Linked DNA regions of Homo sapiens: region 2 is linked to region 1. The links are contacts of gene promoters, found by promoter capture Hi-C in human tissues and cell types (Jung and others, 2019). All regions are on one chromosome and are shown on one strand. Each heading gives the region's core, a stretch centred on a gene start or on the middle of the fragment in contact. The rest is flanking DNA. Distances are from core to core; before and after follow the strand shown.

What was found. Contacts are between HindIII fragments. The study calls those that stand out against the background at their distance.
Region 2: a contact is called between a fragment that was not itself captured here and the fragment with the promoter of SORCS1 in region 1, in 1 of the 25 tissues and cell types used here (dorsolateral prefrontal cortex).

What each region holds. Positions count from the first base shown.
Region 1 is chr10:107,162,540-107,167,158 of GRCh38, forward strand. It overlaps SORCS1 (sortilin related VPS10 domain containing receptor 1), which reads right to left and starts at 2,167. Exons shown (of 26, transcript NM_052918.5): 1 at 1,430-2,167. The coding sequence starts at 1,987. RefSeq lists a silencer at 1,883-2,076. The HindIII fragment of the contact is 4,558 bases long and covers 168-4,619 here.
Region 2 is chr10:107,118,097-107,122,715 of GRCh38, forward strand. All of the region lies in intron 1 of SORCS1 (sortilin related VPS10 domain containing receptor 1), which reads right to left. Among named protein-coding and RNA genes, the nearest start is that of SORCS1, 44 kb to the right of the region's middle. The HindIII fragment of the contact is 4,505 bases long and covers 1-4,279 here.

The sequences.
Region 1 (4,619 bases), core at 917-3,416:
CATATAAAATCACAGACTCTGTCATGAAGGAGGAATTGTAGGGAAAACCCTGCTACTACTCTCAGGACAGATACATCAATGCTAAATATTATCTATCATGATGTGCCTTAATACAATTTATATCTGTGTACCCAAGGAATTCATGATGACAGATTAGTATTTTAAAATGTTCACAACTCTCATTAAAAAGCTGACAATGAGCACAACTCACTAAAGTGGCACTTCTCTGGGAAGGTTTCTGGGAATTACATCACAACAGAAAACGTTTTGAAAGGTTCCAGACTGCGTAAATTGTGCATATTACAAACACTACAATCTCAATTACCTGGTTGAAGCTGTAAAACTTGAAATTTTTTTCCCCCATTTTACCCATCCTTGGTTGTTATGTTCTTGTCTATGTCTGGAGAAGTTTCCACACTTTAAAATCACTTTTAGTTATTACAATCAAAGCTGGTTCTCTACTATTTCAACTCACTGAAGTTTCTAGGTTCAATTTAAACAGGAATAGCTCCCTCAGATTGCAGACATGCAAGCTTTTCTGAAAATCTAAAACCTTTCCTGATAGGACCAAAGCTCATGGACTTGCATCCTAAGTCCCCTGGAATCCAGCCTCCTGGAATTGAGCAATCCCTTTCCTGCCTTCATAAAGGGAATGTTAAGTCTTTATTTGTGCTCTTCATTAGAGGAGGTCAGGCAATGGGGGAGAACAGGGAGTTGTTGTCACTGGGATATATCTGATCTTCCTGGGACTGACCATGCCAGAGAACAACCGCTCATTCACGGGCTGGAAAGCCCCAGTTCTCAAAACACCCTCGCTTAGCGCTGTTAGAAGATGCTGGAGAGTTCCTGCCCTGAAACTTGCATCCACTTGGTCCCTAAAGCAGAGGATACACTAAAGAACACCTTATATACTCTCCACTGCAGTTCTCCCTTGTGGAGAAGAAGGGGTTAGGAGCTCCGCATGAAATTAAAATAAAATAAAATAAAACGCCTACATATATGGGTCTTCTTAATCTTCTTTGAGCCAGTACATAGGTCTGGCAAGTAAAGGGAAAGTCACTTGAGGGGATGTCAGCTTGCCTGGAAATTTAACCCTTTCATCTCTGTATTAGGAGAACTTTAACCCCTCTGTTTACCTGGTCTTCAGTTCCACACACCAATGCGACCAAGGCAACAGGAAATAGGGATTTGACTCCTCAGTTTGAAGCTGTGGCATTTGGAGAGGACTCTGATGGTGTTGGTGGGAGAGATGGGGAGGTTGGTCTCCTAGTAGGTGATGTTAACTCTTGGGGGAAGTGGGCAGAGACCAGTTTGCAGCATCTCCCATGTCCAGAAACCCTATTTCCCCCCAATTCTCCATCAGATCACACAGCCGACTTTAACCCTTTCCATCTTTCCACCCCTTTACCCTCAGTCCCATTCTACTCACGCTGCTGTTGTGGCCAGACCAGTGGACCATGGCTTGGTTGTGTGCTGAGTCTCCCGTCAGCGCAAACGTGGTGCTGGTCAGTCTCAGCTCCTCCATCCGGAAGCGGGTGGCTTTGTCCGGGTCCCGCTCCCGAGTCCCAGGCTCCTGCTGCCCTCCATCTCTTAGCACTCCCCGGGGGCTCCGACTCGCGCCCTCTCCCCGTTCTGCCTTCTCCTGATCCGCTCCGCTCCGTCTCCTCCGGCCGGAGCGTGCAGCAACCGCCATGGATGCCCCAGTGCCCCGAGCCCGCTCCAGGGATAGCGCTCGGTCCCCGGGGGCCACTGAGAACAGGGGACGCACTACGAGGGGCAGGGGCGTGGCAGGAGCCCTGCCTGGCCGCCCCTGGTGGGAAAAGCCCCTAGGGGTCGAGGCCGAGCGTGGAGCGGAGCTGGGGTGCGGCGAGGGGCAGCAGGAGCCGCCGCCGCAGACGCCCGGGGCGCAGAGGATCAAGAGCCCCGCGCCGGCGAGGAGCGCGCTCAGCCGGGCTTGGGAGCCGCCGCCGGCGCCAACTTTTCCCATCGCGGGAGCGAAGAGCAGCGGAGAGAGGGGTCCCAGAACGAAGGTGGCGGCACGAGCTCTGCGCTGGCGGCTGTGGGGGGCCGGCGCTCAGGACCCCAACTCCATCCAAGTTGCGCCGCGGTGGGGGCGGGCGGAGGCGGCGCCGGGCAGGTGGCGGCCGCTTGCCCGGGCTGGGCTTGTGCCGAGCGCGGGTCCGGACGGAGCGAGCCGCCGCCGCGCGGGGGTGGAGCTGAGCTGAAGTCACTGGCGGAGCGGGCGCGGGCGCTGGCGGGCGACGCGGGAGGGAGGGCAGGCGCTGCCGGGACTCCGGGCGCCGCGTCCCGCGGCCGAGCTGCGCTGCGCACCGGGTCTCCGGGCGCTGGAGGCGCCGCCGGCGACCTCCCCTCGGCCTCGCAGGCGCTGCCGCCGCCTCTCCCCGCCGCCCACTCTGCGCCCCCGCGGCCGCGGGTCCCGGCGCTGAGTCCGCGCACCCTGCCCGCGGGGGCGGTCGACCCCGGGCTCCCGGAGCAGTCGATGTGTCGGGAGCTTCCTATTCCTGCTTTATTGTTTCTATGAGTCTATGTTGCTGTTTCCTTTTTTCTCCGTCTTTCTGGTCTTTTCTAGTTGAGGAGATAGGGATGGGTGGGCTTCTGCTCCTTCCCTCTCTTATGCTTCCTGAGTTGGCATCTTGACCTTACCCGCAGCAGAGCCTGTGTGTCCCAGCCTGGGGGGAGATCCCGGAAAGGCAGCAGCAGAGAGTGATGTAATTAAATGATCTCGTGTGTGAGTGTGTGTGTGTGTGTGTGTGTGTGTGTGTTAGTTTGGGGGATTTTTTTTCCCATCAATTTTAACGCTTAGATTTCTCTCCTAACCTCCTAAAGCATTCACTGAATTTGAACCCAATCTTCCTGCATGCAATCATATTTAAGAAAACGCTTTCCACTACGCGTTTTTTAAGCGTATATATCTTGGTTTCCCTAAGAGACTGCAAACTCATTGAGGACAGGAAGATCAAATTTCGAGCAACTTGGAGGAAGTGACCTGTTTTTTGTTTACCATTTTCCTCAGTACGTGGCACAGTACCCTACATGGGAGGAAATCTGCCAGTCATTAGTTCAATAAATATTTATTGTGAGTCTAATGCATATCTGCATAACAAATAAATACAGGAAAGGAGGCACAGTACTTATAGTTATTCTGTGTCACTTGGTGCCTGGCCCAGTGCTACTGCCACATGCTTTGAGATCCCTAATAGCAAGTCTGTGATGGTGCTCTGCCACTGGTTTGCTTTGGGACCTCAGACAAATCACAATCTGTCAGCTTCCTAAGCTTTAAAATTAAATGGTCACATTAGATGACCTTTAAAATCCCTTCCGCTCCTAAAATTCTATAATTGTATGATTATAGTATCTGCCCAGCCTAGCACCCTGCTACTATTCGTAAGTTCAGATGAAGATTTATAGCAGGTGAATGGGCTTTGAAAACGGCAAAGGATTTCTCAAAATCCAATCCTTTTTAAAGTAGACAGTTTGCTTCTAAGGGTTGAAATGGTTTCAGATTTCTTTGCAGTCTTCATATACGTAATATTCTCTTAGGTACATGTTATTACATTATTTAATGAATATTTACTGATTGAATAAATGAATGACACAACAAAATAGTACCGATTCCAGTTTCTAGTTACATTTTTGTTCATTTTCATACTAGAATAATAACCTCACTGAAAAATCTGTATACCGTGTTTGCGATGAGGCCAAGTTCAAAGTAATACAGAGTGATAATTACTCTTCAATTAATGAAATTCTTTCTAATGTCCAAGAAAACGTCTGTTATATCAATCCAATCCAGAGAGGTGTTGTAAAATATCGGCCTAAGTTCTTGTTCTTACGACCAGCGCAGAAAAAGTGCAAATGCAAGGAGGGCAGGCTTCTCAGCCATTAAACTTGAGTACCTAAAAGGACCTAAAAGAGTGTCCTGTTTGTCGTTAAAGAAGAAATACAAGCAAAAGCTCCTTTATGCCTGAATCCTCCAAAACAGAAAGGCTGTCTGGCAGGCTATGGCCTCTAGATGGAGGAGAGGAGAGCCAGAGGTCCTCTCTCCTCCTCAAATTGCAAATGTTCTTTGTCAAAACCCAGAGCGGTAGTTTTTTCTTTCCTCAGAAAGGTTTTTAGAGCTTTGCAGGATCATTTACTTAATGACTTCTTTCTATGCCCTGCTAACCTCCTTTCCAGTCTGGATAAGTACATGGGAATTCCTCCAAGAAAGGAAAAGCAGATTAAAGAATCAGAACCCAAATAAATTATCATCCAAATATAGGCTGGAAGAAGCAAAATGGAAAAGAAGACATTAGTGGATTCAGATTTCCTGGCTTTAGTCTATCATTGCCCTACCACCATTTATGTTATTTTGGTTTCAAAATGGAAGCGCTTCCTGAAGAATGCTCGTACAAGTAGAGTAGATTTTTCCTTCCCAGAATTTACAACCTCTTTTCAAACACACCTGTCAGAATGATCCCTTTAAAATGAAAGCATTTGCAGTCCATTTGCTGGGAGTTCATAGAGAGCAGGCAAGTTTTTAATGCCTGATTTTAATTATTCATTTGAGACAGAAGTTACACAAGTGTGGATGACATTGGCTGCAAGCCGTATTGTTC
Region 2 (4,619 bases), core at 777-3,276, 45 kb before region 1:
GGCCTACAGGAGGTGTATAGGTCATGAGGGCAGGACTCTCATGAATGGGATTAATGTCCTTATGAAAGAGACTCTATAAATAAGATCCCTTCTACCTCACATTCTACCATGTGAGGACACAGCCATCTCTGAACCAGGATGTGGGCTCTCGTCAGACACCAAATCCGTTGCTGCCTTGATCTTGGACTTCCCAGCCTTCAAAACTGTGAGAAATAAATTTCTGTTGTTTATAAGCCACCCAGGTTATGTTATTGTTGGAGCAGACAAAACTGACTAAGACAATGTGTTTATTTTTTCTTTAGCTACTAGACAGTTTGCAGTAAATCCAGGAAACAATCCATCAGTTGAATGGGATCATATCATATGCATATGCCCATGACACATTTATCCTTGGGCTTTATTTTTTTCCTCCACTGATTTATCTAACATCCAATGTCCTTTGATTTAAAAATTAACTCTATCTCACTCCATAAATCTGTGAGGGACTTTGCAAAAAATTACATAAAAGGATAAACAGACCGATGGGTGACTATACAGATGAATTGATATCTAGGTAAATAATATCTATTCAGGTCTTTGCACCCTTATCCATTTCTACTTCCTTTCAGACTTTGAGGATACCTGCAATAGTAACTACATTTTTTTCTTGTCAGAATAACCATATACTGAGTATGTCACATTTTGGTTGTCTCCTCTATTTCTGGGTACCATAAAATAACATATAACTATGTCTGAGCAATGGATACAGACAAGACATGACATGTAAAACTTCCAGGTCAGAATACTTATAATGTGAGGTCCTCCACAGCTCTCTTTTCCAATCTCAAGAACCAGCAATGCCACAGTTGGTGGACTCTTTAACACTTGGGTCCCTGAGTGATAACTATGCAGATGAGAACTCCCACATGACTCACACAGGTCATATTGTTCTTTGCTGCAGCATCAACTAATCTATCCTGAAAGCTATATACCATAATGAAATGAGTACAGAGCCAGTGAAATGGAAGTGGTGGACAAGCCTCCAAAGTAGCTGAAACTGGTAATATAGGAAGTGAAAGGAAAAGGCAAAATATCAAAATTTCACTGCAGATTTTGAAGTACACTTTCAAAACTGCAAAAGAATTGGTAAGGGTTTAGAGATGAATCATGAAAGTGACTAGGATAGACATAGAAACAGCAAAGAAATATTAAATGTGCTCTTATTGTTTACCTACAGAATGGTGGCCCTTTGTACATTTCATGCACTCAGCTGAGGTATTGCAACTAGTTTTAAAGAAAGGCTATGGTTTGTATATAAGGGTTGCATTTCAAGAGTCTCTAGCAGTAATCCAATTTAATCTTTCAAGGGAATAATACAAACATGGGATTTGTAATCAGAAATATCTTACTGTGGCTGAGGCTTTGAAAATGTTACTTTGCTTTGCTTGGCCTTGATTTTTGTTTTATTAGGAAAATGGAGAGTATTGTACCTATATGCAGTGTTGATGAGATAATCATATTAAATAATCCAAGAAAATCTTTGGCCAGGGAAAAAGTTCATTTATTATTAGAAGCCTTCAAATATTTTATTTTACAATAGGAAGTCTAATCCACAGAGAGATTAACCTAGTTGTCCATGTCATGGAGCTAAGAAAAATGTCTTCTAATAACCTATAGAATTTGGGTATTTTTCATATTTTCTGAGGACTAAACAAGTAGATAGGTCACAAGTTAAGTCAAAATTAATTTCAGATAGATAAAAGAGTGAGAGTATTCATCATCCAAAAAATGGAGTGGTAGAAAATGAAGGAGGCCTGAGAGTCTCTATCTATGGAACTATCCGTTTACAGCCAAGACTGATCACAGCTAACCACAAATCTGCCCTCACTTAGAAAAGCTTTCCATGGTTTCTTCCAGCTAATTCCTATATGTTTTAATATCTTTTCAGAGCACAAAGCACATGCCATCTAGGATGACTACCAGGCTTTCCATCATGGCCTGCCTTATAATATATCTCCTGTGTTATTATCATTCTTACTGTTTATTAGACTTTAAATTGGTTTTACCTTTGCAAGTGAATATATTTAATGTCAGAAATAATTAGAAGTCGAGATTTTTGAGGGTAAGTATTGAATGAATGTTAACTACTTGGCATCTTCATACATCATATATAAATGTATCATACATTATACATCAATACAGCATAAAGCATCTCTTACAGTGCTATGCACATAGCAGGCAGGTAATTTGTATTTGCTGAATGAATAAATAAATACATGAATAAAGAAAGTAATAAAAAAATTCACTGCCTGTAGGCAAGTACCTGGAAGACATGATTGTACAGTATTATATTATTCTATTCTCTGATGGGAAGAGTCTGATTTAGACTAGAAAATTCAAAACAAGTAAGAGGACATCGAGACTAAGCAAATCACAGCAGTGATACTTATTAGTTTATAGACAGAGACCAAAGACTTATAACATGGATCACTTGAAATAAGGACCAGGAAATTCACAGAAGTAGGCAATCTCATAATGCACAGGATAACCTAATAGATCTTTCCACCTGTTATTCCTCTAAGGGAGGACTCTTTCCATGAAACCAAAGATGACTAACTTGAAAGGCAAAGCACGACTGCTTAAACCGGCCATGCATCACTGGCACCAAACTGCTACAACTGAAAATGCGGAAAGCAGGCTATCCACATTCAAGCAAACCCATTTAATTCCCATACTACATCCCTTCTTGTAACATGCTCCTCATAGGGGAGACCACAGTGAGGAAATCCCTAGGTTCTATGTTTCAGGTCTCAAGTGAAAAAAAAGCAAGAAAAAATGATCTATGCTAAGGAGAAGAGGGAGATGGGAATAGGATGGCTTTGCTTAGGGTCTATATGCCAAAATGCAGAGGATAAAGAGAAAAGCGACCAGCACTTCGAAAAGGAGGTTCATGTTAGAAGGTAACATGGCACAGTGAAAATCACAGGTGTCTTTGGAGCCGAAGTCTTTAAATTTATAACATGCAACTTAGTGTCTATAATCTCAAGCAGTTTATTTCATTTTTCTGAGCTTCAGTTTCCCTTATAAACTGCGGACAGTACCACCTGTTTCTCAGGGTTGCCACAGGATGCCATGTGATTATTCATGAGATTGTCTGGAATATAGTAGCTCAGTAAAATATAATCCCTCTCTGTCAATCCTGAGAGCCATTTTTGACAAAACAAAAAGTTTCAGAATGTTGAGAAGATCCATAAAATGCATGGACCTAGGCAAAGCAGGAGCTCAGAGCTAGAACTGGTTACATGAGCAGAAGAAGCATCCCCACTGCTCTCAATCAAAGACTTGGGTTCTCAAGGACAAAATTCATACAATGACATCTTTGGGACCATCCCTTCTAAGCTTTTAAGTTGTTTAAAGGAAAGTACAACAAAGAAGGCTAGATGATGCCTGTTATTACATTATTGTTAAGACTGGAGGGAAAGGCATTAAATGTAAAATGGCTAACTGTGATTTAACAACATTATCAAACATGATTCTACAGTAAAAAAAAAAAATCACAGGGTATTAAGTAACATCATATCAATTCCCCAGGGAATATCATTTAGAGACAAGATAAAACTGGCATAACAGTACATACAGTTGGAGAATTGTTATGATAAGGGACAAAAACACATTATTTTCTTGTGTATGCATCTCTTTGCATAACAAATATAAAATGTCTGAAAGAAATACACAGTGGTTCCTTTTGACACAAGGACTGTCTGTGGTTTGGGCATGGGGAGAGGGGCTATCAAAGGAAACCAATATTTTTATCTCCATTTTCACCTTTTAATACAAAAATGTATTTATTATATAATAATACAAATGAGGGAAAAGGAAAAAAGGAGGCAAGCACATCTACCTCCAAAAATTAGTTTGGTGGACAGGGAGTGTCCCAAGGGAAAAAGCACCAGCCACCTGATGCTGCTGTGAATGTAGATGTGACCCTCTGTACTTAGTGCCAGTCTTGAGAAGTGCTCCGGAGACTGGTTTTGGCTTTGTCTATTCCAGAGGGCACAAAGAGGTCACCTCATAAGGGAAAATACCCGTTCAAATGACATTCTTATTTCTGTCTCTCTGTTCTCACAACTAAGCACAATACAAGCAAGGGCCTGCCATTCCTGACCTTGGTCAACCCTGATATTTCGTCCATGTACTATTTCTTCCATGTACTTTTCCTTCAAGTAAAACCATTAGAAGTCTGATTTTCATTTCCTTCCTTCTTTTCCCATTCAAAAAGAGAAGTGCTGAGTAGTAAGTAGCAAGAGTTCCACTCCAATGTCAGGGTTCTGTGGCTCTTGCCTCTCTGATCACTTAACCAGGAAAGGTAAGGAAGAAGCTACTCAACCTAATTATAGATAAAAATAGCATGGCATTTGAGTGTCTGTGCTTTTATCTGAAGAAGGAAATAAGGTAAGACCCTAATCTTAAATGATGCATATACAAATAGCGGTAGCATTTAGTTATTTTTATGGATAAAATAGCTTTTTAAGTTAATTTTCTTTAACTTTGATGCTGATGGCACAATAGCATGATGGCACCTCTGTGTCATTATAAAATGTCTATCATCTCCTTACGGACTAAAAGCAGGAAAGAAAAAA